2 separate regions of the Homo sapiens genome follow, and region 2 is linked to region 1. The links are contacts of gene promoters, found by promoter capture Hi-C in blood cells and fetal thymus (Javierre and others, 2016). All regions are on one chromosome and are shown on one strand. Each heading gives the region's core, a stretch centred on a gene start or on the middle of the fragment in contact. The rest is flanking DNA. Distances are from core to core; before and after follow the strand shown.

Region 1 (2,714 bases), core at 105-2,604:
GTAAATTGGAAGGAAGCGCTTCAACAGGAGGAGAGTGGTTCAAAAGATGGACAAGAGGTAAGTTGTGATCTTCGAAGACCAGGTCATGGAGAAGGGGGCACCCTTAAAGGGAAGTGAGAGAGGGAAAGAAAGAATTTCATTCTAATTCCTGAGAGCAAGGCAGCGCATATAAAATTACCTAAGATTTACAGAGCGATTTGCCGTTTACAAAACATTATGACATTCACGATAACGTTTAATCCTTATCACCCTGAAACGCTGGTTACATTTTATTTTACACATGAGGAAACTGAGGCTGAGTAGGGCGGATTATGCGACTTGCTCAAGGTCACTTGGCTGAAGTCAGCGCTAGGATGCATCCCCAATGCCCCCACCCCTCCGGGTGGCCGTCCACCCTGAAAGTCTTTGTATTATCTCCTACAGGGCAAGGCTGGTGTGGCTGCAACAGACTTCGCCCCCTCACCCCCAAATCTGGGACGGAGCAGCGCCCTCAGGTGTCAAGGAGGGGACCTGAGTGACGCGGAGCCACTGACTGGGGTTTCCCTGTCCTGCGGGGCTCGCGGGAGCCAGGAGCAGAAGCCACAGCTCTCGAACACACGACAGGCAGTCAGTCAAGTCAGGCTCCAGCAGCAGTTGCCGGCGTGGGGCTTAACACGAGAGGGGCAGCGCTGGGTGAATTCCCCTCCGAGCGATCCCAGGGCTAGGACCAAGCGCCTGCGCCCGCTTCTCCGACCCGGCTCCCCACACTCCCCCCTGCCCCGCTGGCTCCTTCCCGGAGGTTCCCCTGTGCGTGGGGGCGCCCTGGAAGAGGAATGGGGCTGGGGTGGAGTATGGAGGTGTCAGAGGGCCGACCCCGGGGCGAGGGCTTCCAACGCCGATCTTATGGGTCAGGACAACCGCGAACAAACCCCGGCTGAAGTTTGGGCATCAAGGGTTTCAGACCAAGTAGCAAGTTGCCTGGAGAGCGAGCGGTCCTAGGTGGAGGGCCTGGGGCAGGGGTGGCGGTAGGGGAACAAGGGAGAGGCAGGAGATGGTGCCCCTTCCCACGCAGCCCCTCGCGGCCCCGCGGGTAGGTGGCCGGTCCGCCTCTGCAGCCCGCGGGTGCGGAGAAAGCGCCCGGCACCGGGCACCCGGCACCGCGGCGCAGCGCAGCCAGCCCCTCCTCGCCGCGCTCCGCGCTCCTCCCCACCTGCCCACGGCCTCGCCCCCGCCGCGGAGACTCACAGTCCTCAGAAACTGGATCTCGTCCTCGCCTCCTTCTCCCCCTTCGGCCATGGCTCCCGAGGCGTCGGCGGTGCCCCAGCCTCCGGCGCCTCTGCTTCCCCCGGCAGCCGCTCGGCGTGCGCTGACTGCTGCTGCGCTCTTTCTCCTCCTCCTTTTCGTCCTCGTCCTCCACCTCCTCCTCCAGCTCCTGGCTCAGCCTCAGCCTCAGCAGCGCCAAGCTAATCCCCGACCATATAGGGAGCTGGGCTAACACTCCACTGCACTGCAGAGCGCCAACGCCAACCAAGCAGTCCGCCCACCCCTCTCGCCTCTCGCCCCAGCCAAGTGCGCTGCGGCCGCCCGCTCCGTGGAGAGCGCAACGCTGGGCGCGTCGAGCTGGCGGGGGCGGTGCGGGGGCCCTGGGCTGGCGCGGTGGAGCCTCCCCCGCACCGCTGGGTACCGCACCGCACACTCAGCGGAGGCGCGCGCCCCGCGGCGACCGGAGGATGTCCCCTAAACTGCTCCAATTCACAAACAAAGGCCAGTTGCTTAGCTCCAGCGCGCCCAGACTGGGTACCAACCCTCTCGCTTTGCTCGCTTTGCCCGCTTTGCCCACTTTGCCTGTGTGTGTGTGTGTGTGTGTGTGTGTGTGTGTGTGTGTGTGACAGAGATAGAGAGAGAGAGAGAGGAAAGAGAGAGACAGAGACAGAGAGAGAGAGAGAGGAAAGAGAGAGACAGAGACAGAGAGACAGAGAGAGGAAAGAGAGAGAGACAGAGACAGAGAGAGAGAGAGAGAGAGAGAGAGAGATCTGGACTCGAATACCTTGCTAGGACCCGCGTGCATTGTTGGGCAAGGAGAAGACGGTGCAGTGAGGAGCGAGGGTGATTGTCCACTTACAACAAAGTTTGCAACTCCCTGGATAGTCCTTTCTACACCTTAAGAGAACCCCTTCCCCTCTTCAAAATTGGTAAGTACACTTTACCAAACCCCTGGATTGTCCAGGGTTGCTGTGACTTCTGTACCCCAGGGAGCTTCTGGGGGATCCTGTGCCACCCTCAATTTGGAAGTCAGGTGGCATCACAACCCTTCCTCTCTGCCCACCCCTAACCTTATTCTGCATTTAGAGTTCCAGCCCTGTGGACTCTAAAGGGAGTAGAGAGTAGTTACAGGAGGCTCCCTTCCAGGTCCTGGAAGGCTCCTACATCCCACCCAGCCTTAGGTCCTTTTCCATGGTTGGGGATTGCCAGATTGGTCCTTGCCTTGACTGACGGTGCAGGGTGCCCCCTTCTGTTTGATGGCCGAGAAGCTCCAAGGCAAGAGACTGTTCAAGGCAAAAGGCACCAGAGATGTAGATTTAGGAGGAAGTGCAACTGGGAAGGTGGTAATTCTGGGCTGATGATGGTGGAAGACACTGGAAACCCCAAGCCATTTCACAGCTTCATATACCGCCTCCTTGTGGACGACATCTATCTCTTGATGCTACCTTAAGATCTCTTTCCTGAGCTTCCGT
Region 2 (2,714 bases), core at 140-2,639, 670 kb before region 1:
CAGGTTTCTCCCTGTAAACTCCCTGTTTTTCCCTTTCCATTTATTGTTCACTAGCAGCGAGTCACTAAGTCCTGCTCACACTCAAGACGATGCGAGTAAGCTTCATCCATGGAAGGAGGAATTTCTGGGCATGTGTTAAAAACAATGACAGTAAATAATGTTTTGAGGCTATGCAAAGATACTGTTTTTCCTTAAAAGTTCAGGGGAACTAGTTCTCTCTGAAGCCAAGAATTGCCTTGGACAAGAGGTCAAGTTATAATGACTAAATACTTGCCCTTTTTATTTATGCTTTACTGCAGATCTATCTGTATTATAAATGGTGCTATTCTTGTGTCATTGACCCTTCTGTCAATTTCTTTGAAGAATGGAAGCGTTTATGTTAACTGAATGGGGTTAATGAGGGTACGTTTGTAAAACAAGGTGAAACATCAATAATTGATTTTAATTTCTTCCTCATTAATCAGTTACAAAAAGCTTATTTTATCTTTTGTCATTTGTTGGTTACCAAGAAGCCATATATATGTGTGTGTGTGTATGTGTGTGTATATATATGTATATATATATATACACACACATACACACACGTGTGTATATATACACACACACATACACACACACACACACACACACACACACACAGAGTATGGACATATATGTATATGGTTAGCTATATCCCAAGTGATTTATATATCCACGTCTAAAATCCGTTGCTCAGAAAAACCTGCCTTAATGTTGTGCTTCTTGTGCAAGAGACAGTCATGGTCCATGCAGTTAAGAGGTGCAGTCTTTCAAAAATTATCCCAACAGGAGTTGATGGGTAGGAAGGAGGCATGTCCCAGTGATCCAACAGTCATCCCAGGACATGCTAACCATTTGACTGATCTCCCTCAGAAGTTGGGATAATTCTAAGGTAGCCTTTGTTGCTTTAGGGGTGTTGTCCAGATGGGCTGGTCCAGAGAGAGAGAGAGAATGTGGTTGATGTGTTTTTCGATTCATAAGGGGAAAACATCATGGGGAAAGCATCATGGTATTTGGATGTACAACATAACTACATTCTTTACTGCTGTTCTTGGAAATGCCATAACCTAAACAAATTCTTGTTTCCATTACTAAATTCAAAAATTTTGAGTCAGTGCAGTGGTAGATATGGGTAAACATTTATAGCATTTAAAAAAAATTGTAAAATCTTAAAAAAGGATCAAGATTTGGCAGTGCTGAGTTAATAGCAGTCAATCAAATTGAATTTGACCATTGGGACTGAGATTTGGCCTCTTAACCATATGTTATTGCTTTGCTCCAGAAAATATTTTAGTAGTATTATCAGAAATACTTCCATTTATTTTTTTCCTTTTTTAATTTTTATTTTTGGCAGAGCATAGCATTTGGTAATTCTTGGGGTCATTACTAGGGTTTGGATTGGGATGGGAGAGGGTGTGATCTTATAGGAATTTGAAATTGAGAAGGCAGCACTGCTGAAAAATGCATTAGGGCCAACCTCTGAATTAGATTGGCTTAATTTGTTGGGGGCAGAGCTGCAGATGCAGCTCTACATCTGCAGAGATGTAGGTGTTAACAAATGTGTTAAAATAACTCTTATTTAGTGCTGGGTGTGGTGGTTCATGCCTGTAATCCCAGCACTTTGGGAGGCTGAGGCGGGTGGATCATCTGAGGTCAGGAGTTCAAGACCAGCCTGGCCAGTGTGGTGAAATCTTGTCTCTACTAATAAAAAAAAAAAGAAAAAATACAAAAATTAGCAGGGCATGGTGGCATGTACCTGTAGTCCCAGCTACTAGGGAGGCTGAGGCAGGAGGATTGCTTGAACTTGGGAGGTGGAGGTTGCAGTGAGCTGAGGTTGGAGTGAGCCAAGATCGCGCCACTGCACTCCAGCCTGGGCAACAGAGTGAGACTCCGTTTCAAAAACAAAAAAACAAAACTTGTTTATAGAGTACCTGGCTAGATATTTGGTATTTTGTATACATTTTGTTTAAATTCAAAATAGCCCTTCAGTGTTAGTATTAGACAATTTTATAGATGAGATAAATTAAGCTCAAAGAAGTTAGGTAACAAGGATCACATAACTAGTGTGTAATGGAACTGCAGTGTGAATTCCTTTCAATCTGATTCCAAAACCCATGACTATTCTTTATATTGCACTCTCGCCCCCTGTGGTATGCATACAGTTGGCTATGCAGCAGTAGGCCCTTTTGGTGTATTGTATAGAAAATGAGCCATTTCATTGTTTGGGAAACTTGTGTTTCCTCCCCTTCCCCCCATTTTTAGTATCTGTTAAAAGAAGAAAGCTTTTGGCTACTTAAAAAAACTTGGTTATGTTTAGTTTGGTGCCTTTTGATCTGGTCATGACAATGGGAGCAATACTCTTATGCTTGCTACTTGTTTCATTTAAACTGAAAAGTCCGGAAAAAATATATTAGTACGCAGGAGTGCTAACTTGCAAATGAGTTTTTCTTGACTGCTAATAACTCAAGCAAAAAGATAATTATGTGTTATAAACTGTGCATGCGGAAAGTGAAATGAAATTCATCCGCTTCATATTTTTTAGGAAAATTGATAAGGCATCGCTGTTAATATTTTTCACATTACCTTTTGGATTTCTTAATTCAGATATTTTCTCTCCACAATTTTGAGAGAAAATTAAGAGGGGTTGCTGTCCAAAACTGGGGAGTCTTGGAATCAAGTTGTGATTGTATGTTTAT

What was found. Contacts are between HindIII fragments. The CHiCAGO score rates a contact against its expected background, and 5 or more counts as called.
Region 2: a fragment that was not itself captured here is called in contact with the fragment with the promoter of RYR3 in region 1 in 1 of 17 cell types (megakaryocytes); the score reaches 7.9 in megakaryocytes.

Annotation. Positions count from the first base shown.
Region 1 is chr15:33,309,607-33,312,320 of GRCh38, reverse strand. RYR3 (ryanodine receptor 3) reads right to left here and starts at 1,354. Exons shown (of 104, transcript NM_001036.6): 1 at 1,225-1,354. The coding sequence starts at 1,275. RYR3-DT (RYR3 divergent transcript) reads left to right here and starts at 1,662. Exons shown (of 3, transcript NR_120327.1): 1 at 1,662-1,743. RefSeq lists enhancers at 112-621, 622-1,133. The HindIII fragment of the contact is 6,631 bases long and covers 1-2,714 here.
Region 2 is chr15:33,981,054-33,983,767 of GRCh38, reverse strand. The region is part of intron 2 of AVEN (apoptosis and caspase activation inhibitor); the gene reads left to right. The region is part of intron 1 of CHRM5 (cholinergic receptor muscarinic 5); the gene reads right to left. Among named protein-coding and RNA genes, the nearest start is that of CHRM5, 14 kb to the right of the region's middle. The HindIII fragment of the contact is 1,826 bases long and covers 477-2,302 here.